2 separate regions of the Homo sapiens genome follow, and region 1 is linked to region 2. The links are contacts of gene promoters, found by promoter capture Hi-C in human tissues and cell types (Jung and others, 2019). All regions are on one chromosome and are shown on one strand. The core of a region is centred on a gene start or on the middle of the fragment in contact, and the rest is flanking DNA. Distances in the headings are between cores, read along the strand shown. Region 1 overlaps LINC01517 (long intergenic non-protein coding RNA 1517). Region 2 holds the start of LYZL1 (lysozyme like 1).

Evidence for each region. Contacts are between HindIII fragments. The study calls those that stand out against the background at their distance.
Region 1: a contact is called between a fragment that was not itself captured here and the fragment with the promoter of LYZL1 in region 2, in 2 of the 25 tissues and cell types used here (IMR-90 fibroblasts and dorsolateral prefrontal cortex).

What each region holds. Positions count from the first base shown.
Region 1 is chr10:28,752,566-28,759,539 of GRCh38, reverse strand. The region is part of intron 2 of LINC01517 (long intergenic non-protein coding RNA 1517); the gene reads right to left. Among named protein-coding and RNA genes, the nearest start is that of LINC01517, 12 kb to the right of the region's middle. The HindIII fragment of the contact is 7,130 bases long and covers 1-6,092 here.
Region 2 is chr10:29,285,843-29,293,582 of GRCh38, reverse strand. It overlaps LYZL1 (lysozyme like 1), which reads right to left and starts at 4,513. Exons shown (of 5, transcript NM_032517.6): 1 at 4,353-4,513; 2 at 1,577-1,740; 3 at 906-1,064. The coding sequence starts at 1,715. RefSeq lists an enhancer at 7,679-7,740. The HindIII fragment of the contact is 13,518 bases long and covers 2,097-7,740 here.

The DNA.
Region 1 (6,974 bases), core at 1,278-3,777, 530 kb after region 2:
ATGGCGCGATCTCAGCTCACTGCAACCTCCACCTCCCAGGTTCCGGTGATTCTCCTGCCTCAGCCTCCCGACTAGCTGGGATTACAGGGGCCCACTACCACGCCCAACTAATTTTTGTATTTTTAGTAGAAATGGGGTTTCGCCATGTTGGCCAGACTGATCTCAAACTCCTGACCTCAGGTGATCCAACTGCCTCAGCCTCCCAAAGTACTGGATTACAGGCATGAGCCACAGCGCCCAGCTGCTGTTGCCTTGCTTTAAAAAAAACCTAAGCATTGTAAAATTTATTCATTATTGTATATAGCCAGAATTGAATTTATGGGTTTGTTTTGTTTTTTTGTTGAGACAGGGTCTCACTTTATCACTCAGGCTGGAACACAGTGGTGCGATCTCAACTCACTGCAGCCTCAACCTCCCAAGCACAAGTGATCCTCCCACCTCAGCCCCCCAAGTAGCTGAGACTCCAGGCACACACCACCATTCCCAGGTAATTTTTTGTATTTTCATAGAGACAAGGTTTTGCCATGTTGTCCAGGATGGATTCAAACTCCTGAACTCAAGTGATCCTCCCACCTCAGCCTCCCAAAGTGCTGGGATTACAGGCATGACCCACAGCAACCAGCCGATTATGCCAATTTATACTACAACAAATGATGAATGAGAATTTGAGTTCCTTCATATCCTTGTCAGAATTTGGCATTGCCAGGCTTTTTAATGTTAGCCATTCTAGTGGATGTGGCTATTAGCAATTCTTGGATAAGTAATAGAAGAGCACCTTTATGTAAGTATGTTAACTACTTGGATATCTTCTTTTATGAAGTGCCTGTTCAAGTCCCTTACCATTTTTCTTCTACTGGATTGTTTGGTTTTTTTCTTAGTGATAAATACGAGCCCTTTATATTTTCCAGAATGAGTCATTTGCTTTTTGTGCCCTTTCTAATATACTTTGATAAATAGGAGTTCTTGATTTTCATGTTCAATGTATCGGTATTTTCCATTATACCCAGTACTGCTTGAGGGCTGGAGTATTGCAGAAATAAGATTGGCCATGAATTAATAATTGTAGAAATTAAGTGATAAATACATGAGGGCACATTACATGATTAAAGGCTTTGGTACATATTTGAGATTTTCTATAATAAAAAGTTTTATTATTATTATTTTTAATCCAAGGGATAACTTAAGACAGGACCAATGGGATAAGCAGGAACAGAATAACAGAAGTAGAGACAGAAGGAGGAAGGAGAAGGTGATAAGAAATGAAACATATGAATTTGGAGATTTAGAAATGGAGTCTATGACTTGAACACACATCAGGAGTTTTTCACTTGGCAATCTTACTATACGATCCAAAGGAACTATAGCAAGAGTTAAATACATAGAAAAAGGATTAGGTCAAAACTGATACACTGGGAAAGCAAAGAGGTCTGAGTGTGCATACAACTCAAAACTTCCGAGAGAGAGTAGGGTTAGAAGTGGCTGGTGGCCGGGCGCGGTGGCTCATGCCTGTAATCCCAGCACTTCTGGAGGCTGAGATGGGTGGATCTCTGAGGTCAGGGGTTCGAGACTAGCCTGCCAAACATGGCGAAACCCTGTCTCTCCTAAAAATACAAAAAATTAGCCTGGCATGGTGGCGCATGACTGTAAACCCAGCTACTCAGGAGGCTGAGGCAGAAGAATCGCTTGAATCTAGGAGTTGGAAGTTGCAGTGAGCCAAGATCATGCCACTGCACTCCAGCCTGGGCAACACAGCAAGACTCTGTCTCAAAAAAAAAAAAAGTGGCTAGTGACCTACTTACTAGTCATGTGGGACAAAGACAATTAAATGATACATTTTGAGTTAACCTGAATTACTGTCAATTCTCTTTTATATGCAAAGGCTAGGAAATGAGATGTCCTAGTTAAGCCAATTTCATATGCGTAAATACCATATATTTAGTCACTTATTAAAGTAGTAAACAGAACTCTCCTGGAGCCACTTCATCCTATTGTAGAGCATTTGGCTTTCCTGAGCATGAATCTGTAGAATATTTTTGGAAGAGAAAGTTTTTGAGTCCCTACCATTCACATCATTTCATGTTATTATTCCAAATGCATGACTTTCATTTACAAGGAAAATAAGGATCTTCCAAAGATATGAACTATTCTGGGTCATTCATGGTTTTCAGCCAGGAAAGCATCTACAGAAACAAAAAAGCAGGACACTGTTATCAGACGTGGGGTTAAATAATCATAATGAAAGACCACTCCTTAATCACTCCATAGCACATGAGCCCCTTTAGACAGCTGAATTTACTTACATTTGTCAAAAACATGGCTGATTTTGGAACCAAGTTGCAGGTTATTATAGTACAAAATTCCAGTTGACATTTAGCAAGCTTAACCCAAATAAAGATGACAGTTCAGGCTATAGTAGGGCTATTAAATTTGTCATTATAACTTCTAGCCAAGTATTTGTCAACTACGTATTCATTTGAACAAAACCATATGCATTTATAAGATGTCAGCCTCCTAAGTGTAGACATACATAGGCTAAAAATCATCCCAAGAACAGCTCAATAATTCTCCTGCTGCAAAATTTAAGGACAGAGCCAACTCAGGGACACAGGAGGGTTTTCTGCAGCCTCTGGGGCAGAACTTCCAAGTTGCCTAGGAACAAGTCATTTGCTTCTATCTATTGTCTCAAGAATGCTGAGGTGCAGGCAGAACGGAAGAAGGTGGTAGCAGAATCAGATGGTTTGCAAATATGAATCATAAGGCACTCACTCATTTCTGCCCTTGTCTGCTATCTTCCTTTCCACCCCTAAGTGTTTATTTTAACCTAGTTTGATCTGTGTCAGTGCACATGGAGGCAAGGATGAATAAAAAATACTGAGGATGGGCCAGGCACAGTGGCTCATGCCTGTAATCCCAGCACTTTGGGAGGCCGAGGTGGGAGGATCACGAGGTCAGGGGTTCGAGACCAGCCTGGCCAATATGGTGAAACCCCAACTCTACTAAAAATACAAAAATTAACTGGGCGTGGTGGTGGGCACCTGTAATCCCAGCTACTCAGGAGGCTGAGCCAGGAGAATCGCTTGAAACCGGAAAGCAGAGGTAACAGTGAGCTGAGATCATGCCACTGCATTCCAGCCTGGGTGAAAGAGCAAAACTCCTTCTCGTTGTTGAACTCTTGTTTCTCTGGGTCCATTTTTCTCATGTGGTTCAACAGAGGGACTTTTTATTAAGAACCAGGCGCCCCCCAACCAAAGAACCTAAAAGAGGGATATAGGAATCTGCGATGATTCTCACATTATGCCAGTTCATGCTTCACTTAGTCTTCTGGTTCACTGTAATTCTCTGCCAGGTTTCAAGGTGCTCTCCTTGGCTAAAGCCAGACCTCAGCTGCACTCCAGCCCTGTGACAAACCAAAAAGTCCCTCATCGTGCTGGACAAAGTCTACTTCAACGTATGGCCCATGACAGACAATAGCCCTCCATTTCAGGAAATACTTTCTAGTAGACTACAAGTATTACCAACAGACTTGGGGGAAACCCACAGGCCAGATTCCCATCAATAATATTTCTAACATTATTGGAAATGTAGGAATTTCTAACATTATTAGAAATGGGAATAATATTTATTATAATAATATAGATATAATAATATAGTAATAAAATATTTTATAAATTTATAAAATATAAAATGTATAAATTTATAAAATATATAATATAATTTATAAAATTTATAAAATAATTTGTATCGAATTTTATCATTTATAAATATAAATTTGTATTTATAATTTATTATTAAAAATAATTTATGAATTTATAAAATGATATTATATAATAATATTGATGGGGATAATATTCCATCAGTAATATCAGTAATATTTCCAAGAAAAGAGGTTTCCTGAAGTTATTACTTGTACCAGATACCTTGGCTAGGTCAAGATGCCCCTTGGGCACCACTCCACACCTGCTCAGCCTCACCTGTTTCTCTTTGCATCTATTGCTGTTGGGACTAGTACTGTGTAGGATCTGATCAACAGGTGCAACCTAACAGCACCCAGACCAGGGCCCCCACTGCCAGCCCTGGTAGGGTAGTTGACACATGGGAACCAGCTTGGTGTTCCCAGATGATGATAACTACTAAATTATCATCTTTCTAATAATCTCCATAGGGTTTTAATATTTTAATCATTAATACTCTATAGGACAAACCTTTGATCATTGGAAAAATGGATCCAGTGGATAAAGGCATCCCCTCTGTTCTTTCTCTGGGCTTATGACTTCAAGACATCTCAGGCAGCCCCACGAGATTGGACACAGGAGCTGTGACCAGCTCAACGAAACAGCTCTGTAATCGACTCTCTTTCCTTCCTTGCTTCACTCCCATCCTTCACTCCTGCTCCTAGGTCATATGCTAAAATAAAGCATGTGAAGTATGACCTCAAGCTTTAACTATGTGGCTGTATCAGCTTTCCAGAGAACCCAGGCTAAGATACTAGTCTATCAGCAGTCCCAGTGTGATGATGAGTAAATCATTGATTTCCCAACCTTTGAACATTTTATATGATAGAAATATAAACTCTACTAAGCCTTCTCAAACTCCAATTCCATCACATCATCTGCCTGAACAACAAACTACAACTTCTTCTGCCATCATTCCAACTCCTCAGCTGTTCCCTTTCCATTTCTACTTTATTAACGTTTATTGGAAAGTCCCCTTGGGGTTACATTCAAGGCTGTCCATCTTCTCCCTCCTTCCCTGCCCTTCACCAGCTATATCCCCTCCCCCAGACCCAAGCTTCCCTGTTGCTGTCACTCTACGTGTAAGGTGCTCATTCTGCCGCCAGGACTTCCATTCATTAACTGTACCTAGTTAGGTTGCCTCCCATCACACCATTACTCCACCTCCCTTCAACAGCAAGATGTTGTTGAACATGGTATACAGCTGGCACTGTCAAATCCCCTTTACAAGCCAGATGCAGTGCTGTGCTCCTGTAGTCTCAGCTACTCAGGAGGCTGAGGCAGGAGGATTGCTTGAGCCCCAGAGTTCAAGGCCAGCCTGAGCAACATAACAAGACCTCATCTCTTAAAAAAAATTCCCCTTTACAGAAAAAGAGAGAAAAACTGTACAACTGTTATTTTGCTGTAATAAGTCTGCTATTTTAAAAGGATGTCCCAGCCTAGGAAACATGGAAAAACCCCATCTCTACAAAAAAATTAAAAATCAGCTGGGCATGGTGGCATGTGCCTATAGTCCCACTACTCAAGAGGCTAAGTAAGGCCTGAGGGTTGCATGAGCCCAGAAGGTATGCAGGTTCACAGGAGCTGCAGTGAACCATGATCACACCACTGTGCTCCAGCCTGGATGACAGAGTGAGACCCTGTCTCAAAAAAAAAAAAAAAAACAAAACACAGGATGTCATTTGGAACTTATTTTCAAAAAATACATGTTTGTAATGGTTTTTATCATCATAGTAGAATATTAGAATATTACCTACACATCATTTGGCAATTGAGGAAGTTGCTTTTTCCTTTTCTGTGGATATTTTGTCTCCACCCACAACTGAACTAGGACTTTATTTCTCTTGCTCTTTTCTGCTCACAGCCTCAGATCATCAACCGAGTCTGCGCATCTAGAGTGGTGCATCACACACGAAGGTACTTGCTCAGTGTGTTGGGAAGTGTGCAGGGAACCTAGCCACAGCTAAGGCCAGACAGGCATAGGAAAAACTGGCCTGGTCACTCTTCCAGCCACTGTTCTAGGATTCCATGTTCATCTCTCAACACTTATGGGGATAAATAGTTGCTAATAAGATGAAATCATAACTCTGACTTTTAAGCCATAGGAAACATTTTCCAGACATGCATATGCACACATATATATTTATGTATGTATGCATGTGTATATATATATATATATATATATATATATATATATATATATATTTTCCCACCACTTTCCTGGAGGCAAAGGCGGTGCCTGTGGATTAAACTCAGCTTTGTAGCCATTTAACAATTGCCTTAAGTGGGAGTTTTATAAAAGCATCTAATTGAGGCCAGGTGCAGTGGCTCCTGCCTGTAATCCCAGTGCTTTGAGGGGCCAAGGCAGGAGGATTGCTTGAAGCCAGGAGTTTAAGACCACCCTGAACAACATAGCAAGACCCATCTCTTAAAAAAAAAAAAAAAAAAAAAAAAGCTAAAAATTTTAAAAATCAAAATTTAAAAAATCTAATGATATTTACTAATTCTTCCCACTCCCTACTTGCCTGTCTCCTGTCATGTAAAGGCTGTCTCCTCTCTTTCAATTGTTTAGCCTCCAAAGCTGGAATCCTCCCCAATTTCTCTTTCTCTCACATATCATGCCCATCCCATTAGCAAGTCCTGTGAGTTGTAAATTCAAAGAGACCTAAATATGACACTCCTCACCACCCTGGTCCAAACCACCATCATCCTTCCCCTGAACTGTATTTGAATCACTTTCTAAATATTCTCACTGCCTCTACCTTCACCTCCCTTTTAGCCCATTCTCAACATAGCAGCTTTACAATCTTATTAAAATAAAAGGCAGGCCAGGTGCAGTGAATCATGCCAGTAATCCCAGCACTTTGGAAGACCAGGGCAGGAGAATTGCTTCAGTCCAAGAGTTCGAGACCAGCCTGGGCAACAAAGCAAGAACTCATCTCTACAAAAATAAAATAAAAATAAAAAATTAGCCAAGCATGGTGGCAGCACCTGTAGTCTCAGCTACTTGGGAGGCTGAAACTGGCGGATTGCTTGAGCCCAGGAGTTTGAGGCTGCAGTAAGCTATGATCACACCACTGCACTCCAGCCTGGGCAACAGAGCAAGACCCTGTCTTTAAAAAACAAAACACATTCACTGGGCAAGATGGCCGAATGGGAACAGCTCTGGTCTGCATCTCCCAGTTAGACCAACATAGAAGGTGGATGATTTCTGCATTTCCAACTGAGCCTCCTCTGGTGATA
Region 2 (7,740 bases), core at 3,264-5,763:
GTCACATGAAAGTTCGGTAAAGCAGAATTCATGCCTGATGTATTTTGTTATCCTCAATGCTGTGCTCATATGTATTTCTGGAATGACTAAAGTAGAAGACATGAAAGTAAATTCTAGCTTAATTTCTAATGTTTAAGACATGTGGCTAGCTAAATATACTGGCCCACACCAATAACTATAGCACTCTGAGAGGCCGAGGCAGGAGAATCTCCTTAGGCCAGGAGTTCAAGACCAGCCCAGGTGGGACCCCATAACGGGACTCCATAGCCAGACTCTGTCTCTACAAAAAAATTACAAAATAGCCGGGCGTGTGCCTATAGTTCTAGCTACCCAGAGGAGGGAGGATCACTTGGGGCCTGGAGGTCAAGACTGCAATGAGCTATGATCACATCACTGCATTCCAGCCTAGGCAACAGAGTGAGACCCTGTCTCAAAAAAAAAAAAAAAAGAAAAAAGAAAAGAAAAGAAAAAAAAAGAAAGAAAAGAAAAAGGGAAAAGAAAAGAAAGAAACCTAAAGTGTATTCATCTCATTCTGCACTAAGAAGTACAAACTGCATCCTCTGAGCGAATTGCTTATGGAAAGCAGCTGGCAGGCAGCTTCCTTTTTCTTACTGAAGACATCAAATATCTCTAACATGAAAGGGCAGTAGGGTTGTTTGTCCATCCACCTGCTTTAGTGGGGGCTTCATAAAACTGTCTACAAGGAATAAGTCATCTTTGGAGAAGTCAGCCACAGGATCCTGAGTGTCACCTTGGAAACTGTTGCATAATTTACCAATCTGGAACAGACCTATTTGCAAGCCTGAACTCCAAATTTTAGTTAAAGCAAGACATGGTTGGTGATCCCATTGTCGGCTTTCTCGCCTAGTCCTGAGGATGGCATCACTGGAAAGTCAGAGCCTCACCTGAGCAGGCGACATGGCAGTGGTTGTTCTCCTTCAGCTTTCCGCGTCTGCACCACGCGAAGCTGTTGATCTGGAAGATGCCATAGTCGATGCTGCCGTCATCCAGGACCGTCTGGGCTGTGGTGTTGTAGCCGCTCTCATAATATGCCATGCAGATCCCTGGAGGGGGGAAAGCCAGAAACGCCAGCAAAGGAAGTGCATCTTTTGCTCTAAGCTTGGTCTGAGGGCGAGTTTCCTTATCCTTGTTACCTGACTGCTTCCTCCCAATACACCTTGGGCAGGGCAGGGCGGGCATGCGCCCAGGGGGCACACGAGGGGCACATCGGGGGCTGGGATGGCACACCTGAAGCTGTACACCCAGTCAGGGGCTGAGCCTAATCTAGACCAACAGTCAGGTCCCCCCACTCCCCACAATGCCAGCAGAGGTGGCATTATTTTCCCCTTCCCTGGCTAGTGTCATAAGGACAGGACTCCAGGAATAAGGAAATGAGGGGCAGGGGAGGAAGGAGAGGAGACCCAGAGAGCCACAGTTAGGCTAGCAGCCACCCCTGAGTGCGGTGAGGGCAGAGCAGGGGTAGTTGGGAAGACACAGCAGGGAGTGTGGCCAGGACCTTCAACATCTCAGGGGAAAGGTCAAGGACAGAAGGAGAGCAGGAAAGAAAGAGTCTCACAGTTTCCAAGGCTGAAGCCCCAGTAATTGTCCAGGCCAGCCCTCGAGAATATTTTTGCCAGTTTGCAACGAGTGTAGATTTTGGACTCGGCGCCTGTGACCAGGCAGCCAATGAGGGTCAGAATGCCCGCAGCCTTCATCCTCAAAGCCTGCCGGAGACAGAACCTGCCAAAGAGCCGGAGAACAGGTCAGACGATCTTGGTTCAGGAACTTTGAAATCCAGCGGTGGTGACTGTGCACAGCCCTGCCTAGATGCTGCCTGTCACTTTGGTCATTCAGTGCCACCATCAGGGAAAACCGGCCACTCTACGGTCCAGGGAAGGAAGGCAACTGAAGGCTGTTTCCTTAATGCTTTTCCATACAGTAACTTTCAAGTCAATGCTGTGTTCTCAGGGTTAAGCAAGCAAAAAAATTAACCCTCCTTAATACACATCCAGGTGAAAACCACAGGGGGCATTTTTAGGATTTCTATTTTAATTCTATGAATGAAAAATAGAATACAGGGGTGAAACATTCCCTATACTGCTGACCCTTGAACAACATGGGTTTGAACTGCGTGGGTCCATTTATCCGTGAATTTTCTTCTGCCTCTGCCACCCCGAGACAGCAAGACCAACCCCTCCTCTTCCTCCTCCACCTCAGCCTGCTCAGTGTGAAGACAACCAGGATGAAGCCCTTTATGATGATCCACTTCCACTTAACAAATAGTAAATGTATCTTCTCTTCCTTATTCTTTTCTGAATAACATTTCATTTCTCTAGCTTACTTTATTGTAAGAATCCAGTACAGAAGACATAGAACATAAAAAATATGTGTTTATTGGCTATTTATGTTATCAGTAAGGCTTCCAGTCAGCAGTAGGCTATGGAGTCGTTAAGTTTCTGGGGAGTCAAAAGTTACATGCAGATTTTCAACTGAGCAGGCGTCGGTGCCCGTGACCCCTACATTTGTTCAAGGATCAACTGGATGTGTAGAAACAGACAGCCCATTTCAGCCACAGATGAAAGACACGTGGGCCTGTATGGAAAACTTTAAGGGTTATTGTTTGGGGGTTTATCGAAGAGTGAAGATTAAGCACCTACTCTTTCATTTTCTTTTCTTGATTCAGTTCCAAATGTGGGAGCTTTGCTTCCAAAGTATCAGTGCTTTTATTTATTTATTTATTTTTTGAGATGGAATCTCACTCTGTTGTCCAGGCTGGAGTGCAGTGGCGCCATCTGGGCTCACTCCAAACTCTGCCTCCCAGGTTCAAGCGATTCTCCTGCCTCAGCCTCCTGAGTAGCTGGGATTACAGGCGCCCACCACCACACCTGGCTAATTTTTGTGTTTCTAGTATAGATGAGGTTTCACACTGTTGGTCAGGCTCATTTCAAACTCCTGACCTTGTGATCTGCCCACCTCGGCCTCCCAAAGTGCTGGGATAACAGGTGTGAGCCACCATGCCCAGCCCAAAACATGAGTGTTTTATCTTAGATTGCAAATGCATTGCTTTGCTAAGCTTCACCACCAGTGCTCCGGGGGGCCTCCTAAAAGTCTGGCACCTGACTGGGGAGCAAGAGGGATGGAGGACAAAGCCTCATGAAAGGAGGAAAGCACCTGGGGGAGCAGAGGGGCAATAAAGAGACCCCTGCGGAATCATCTGAAATGGGAGTAGGATCAAGAGAGCTGTCTCCTGCTGCCTACTGATTTTCCACAATCTCTTCCCCTCTTGAAATAATGTCTTCCCCAAATACAACAGCCTTGCTGGGATGGGGTGAAGTGAAATTTCTGACAACTACTCGGGATCCTGAACTTGATGTTCTTACATATGTTCATCCCGTGTCATTTTCTGCACTTGCCTAGAAACTTCTCCAGTCATTAGTTTCTCTCCCTGGGGCTGGATTCCTGCATTGAAAGGCTAGGCCCAAAACAGGGATAAGTAGTCATCAGCAAGGCCACCGCACCAAGTAACAAGCAGGGCTTTAAGGTGACTAAGCAATAAGGTAAGGAACTGCATTGCATGAGGGGCATGTACATTACAAACGTGAATAGCAAGCGTGGGCAAACCAGGCCCGCTTTTGTATGTAAAGTTTTATTGAAACATAGCTACACCCATTTGGTAATATATCATTGGTGGCTGATTTCCAACTACAGTGGCAGAGTTCAGTAATTGTGTTTGAGGCCGTATAGACCACAAAGCCTAACATATTATTATCTGGCCCTTTTCAGAGAGAGCATGCCAGTCCGCTGTGTACAGCACTGTGTTAAGCTGTGAGGGACAGACAAACGAGGTTTAAGATGCAGAGCTAAGGCCAGGCATGGTGGGTGATACCTGTAATCCAAGCACTTTGGGAGGCTGAGGTGAGCAGATTGCTTGAAGCCAGGAGTTTGAGACTAGCCTGGGCAGCAAAGGTAGACCCTGCCTCTACAAAATATACAAAAATTAGCCAGGCATGGTGGTGTGTGCCTGTGGTCCCAGCTACTGGGGAGGCTGAGGTGGGAGGATCACTTGAGGCTGGGAGTTTGAGGCCATAGTGAGCCATGATTGTGACACTGCACTCCAGCCTGGGCAGCAGAGTGAGAGACCCTGTCTAAAAAAAAAAAAAAAAAAGAAAAGAAAAAAGAAAAAAAGATACAGAGCTTACAAATAGAGTTGGTTTCCATCCCCTGCCTTAGAATTTTACTGATCTCAAACAAGTCCAAAGAAAACCCGCAGCAATGATAACCCCAAGCATCATGTTCTACATCCTTCAAGAACCTGCCATTGCTGGTTCTCATAAGAGTAATTTAGGTCTTACTGAAAAGGCAGATTCCTGGTGCCTGCCCCAGAGGCTGACTTCTCAGTTGAGTCTGCGGAAGAAACACTGCTCCACTTAGTCGGTGACAGGCAGCTCAGGGGAGCGTCCTGCATCCCCTGAAGCCATGTCTGATTCTAACGAGGCGCGAGTAATCCTTTCCTAGCTCAAGAACATTTCTTTAGAGTGTTAGAGAAAGAAAAATTCTTAATCCTTTGTTTCTCACCACCTAGAGATGCTAGAATTCTACTTCTTGGCACTAAAAGCTGTATCATCCTGCATGCTTGTGTTCTGAGGCAGGTGATAACTGTCTTCTGGGGCTTAATACCTCTTGTTTTTTGTCTTTTCCCCTCAACAACCCTCCTCATTACACAACTTGGCCAGGGCCTCCTGTCCAAGTGAGAGCTCTTCTCTGAGGCGTCTGCAAACTTTATCACAAATTCCATTAATAAAGAAAGTTAAGCATGTATCCTCTTTAGATGTACATTGAGTTATAAATCATACTTCTGTACCTCAGTACTAATATGCTACATAAATTATCAACATACATAAAACTAAAATTTGAAAATTAATGACATAGAGGTGAAATTAACATTAAAAATTTATTAACAGCACATTTGCTATAGTCAAATTATTATTAATAAAATATTTTTGTAATAACATGATTTTATTATTTTTGAAAAATTTGGCTTAACACTTTGTGAATCAATAACTAAAGGGCTGTTTTCAAGGTCTATTTATTTCAATGTTCAGATTTAGTGACACATTTGAAATGAATTCTCATTAGAATATGTAGATCTAAGTAGAAGTTTATTGTTGGCTGCACCTAACTAATCGTTATATTTTCTTAAATTCCATCTGCCAATAATGCAAAGGTTTTGTTGAAATCTATTTTGAAGTTCATATAGTATTGCATTATACAGATACAACATAGCATACTTAGCCAATTTCATATTGATGCACACTTATTTTATTCTTCTATTGTAAACATATTACAACCAGTAATTTTGTACATATGTCATTTGTAACTTTACAAGAATATCTTGCTGGATCAAAGGGTATAATTTTGTAATTTTGCTAGATATTTGCCAAATTGCCTTTCACATGGGCTTGTATCAGGAAGATAGCACACTGTGTTATCAAATGTTTCAATATTTCTCAATATTAGAGATGAAACATAATTTTTCAGCAGAGTTTCAATTTCAACTTTCGTTATTTCAAGCTGCTTGAGGGTCTTTTTTATCTTTAGAAGCCATTAGTGGACTTCTTGTGAACAGTCTATAATATGAGAAAATGTATAGGTTTTTCCCTCAAACATCTTTTTCAAAATGCTTTGAAATAGGGATCTTACCAGTGAGAAAATAGAGACGGATTGTCTTTTTCTTTTTCAAAAATGCTTGCTTAGCAAGTTTTCAGATATGACGTAAATATACAAAAGCCATTTACAATCTTATATACTAGGAATAGAAAATAAGAGTTTGAAATAAAAAAAAATCCATTTACAATAGTACACAAATGCAAATGAAGTACTTAAATTTAAACCTAACAAAATATGTGCAGGATATATATACTGACAACTATAAGACAGACGGAAAATTAAAGAAGACCTGAGTAAATGAAAAAGACACACCATATTCATGAATTTGAAGAGTCAATATTATTAAGATTTAATACATAGATTTAGTGGAATCCCATTTAAACTCCCAGAAAAATTGTTTAGAAAATATCAATAAGAGGGTCCTAAAACTTATATGAAAAGGCAAAGGGACTAGAGTAGGCAAAACTATTCAGAAGAATAATAAAATTGAAGGACTCATATTGCTTGATTTTAGAACTTAATATAAAGCTGTAGTAATCAAGACAGGATGATATTTGTGGAAACAGACACATAGGACAGTGTAACAAAATAGAGAGCCTAGAAATAGTGTTACACATATGTAGTCAAGTAGCTTTTTATAAAGATGCAAATTAAATTCAATGGAAAGATGATGTTCCATTTAACACATGGTACTAAAATAAGACTGTCTATGTGCAAAACAACGAAAACAACAAAAATAAAACAAGGCATAAGGCATATTGAAGAATACATACCTTATATCTCATACAAAAATTAATTCAAGATGGATCAAAAGCCTAAATGTAAAAAGTGTGAAACGATGAAATTCTTTAAGTTAAATATAAAAAATCTGCAGGACCTTGGGTTTGGCAATGAAATTTTAGATATAACATCAAAAGCACAATCCATGAAAGGAAGAAAAAAAAACTGATTAGTTGGATTTGATCAAAATTTAAAACTTTTGCTCTTTGAAAGACACTGTTAAGGGAATGAAAAGATTAGCTACAGATTGGAAGAAATATTTACAAATCAATGTCTGATGAGATGAAAGCCTTGTATTCAGAATATATAAAGGACTCTTAGAATTCAACTATAAGCAAGCATATAACCCAATTAAAAAAAGGGCAAATGATTTAAGCAGACATTTCAAAGAAGATATACAAATGACAAGCATATGAAAAGATGATCAATATCATTGTCACCAGGAAAGAGTAAATAAAACCACAATTAGATATCACTTCTCACTAATTAGAATTGCTAAAATCAATTAGATGAAACCAAATGATGAAGACACAGAACTGTAAGAACTCCAATTTATCACTGGTGGAAATACAAATGGTACAGTCACTTTGGAAAACAGTTAGTCAGTTTCTCATAAAATTAAACATGGACTTATCACATAAACCGACAATTATACTCCTATGTATTTATTCAAGTGAATAAAAAACTTACATTCACACAAAAACAAGCTAACCCATGTTTATAGCAGCTTTATTCATAATCAATGAAAACTGGAAGCAACAAAGATGACCTTCAGCAGGCAAATATATTCAAAAACTATGATCTATCCATACAATGGAATACTACTCAGCAATGAAAGGAATGAGCTATTTGATTCCCGCAACAATGAGGATGAATCTTAAATGCATTTTGCTAAATAAAAGAAGGCAGACCCAAAAGATTACTATTATATATACGTATTATATATAATTCCATATATACGACATTATGGAAAAGGCAAAATTTATAGGGATGGAAAACAGTTCAGTGATTGTCAAGGGTTAGAGGAGAAATTGACTACAAAGGAACCACACACATTCTATTTTATTTTAGGTCATTGGAACTGTTCTCTATGATACTGGGGTAGTAGAAACATGGCTTCATGAATTTGTCAAAATCTGTAGACCCGTACACCACAAAGGGGGAACTTCATTGTATGCAAACTTTAAAAAAATCATCCAGGATGTTGGGGAATACCAGGATAGAATTTAGTCTGTGAGAAAAAGACCTAACTGTATTACAAACGTATAACATAACCTCACTGAAGGCGTGGGA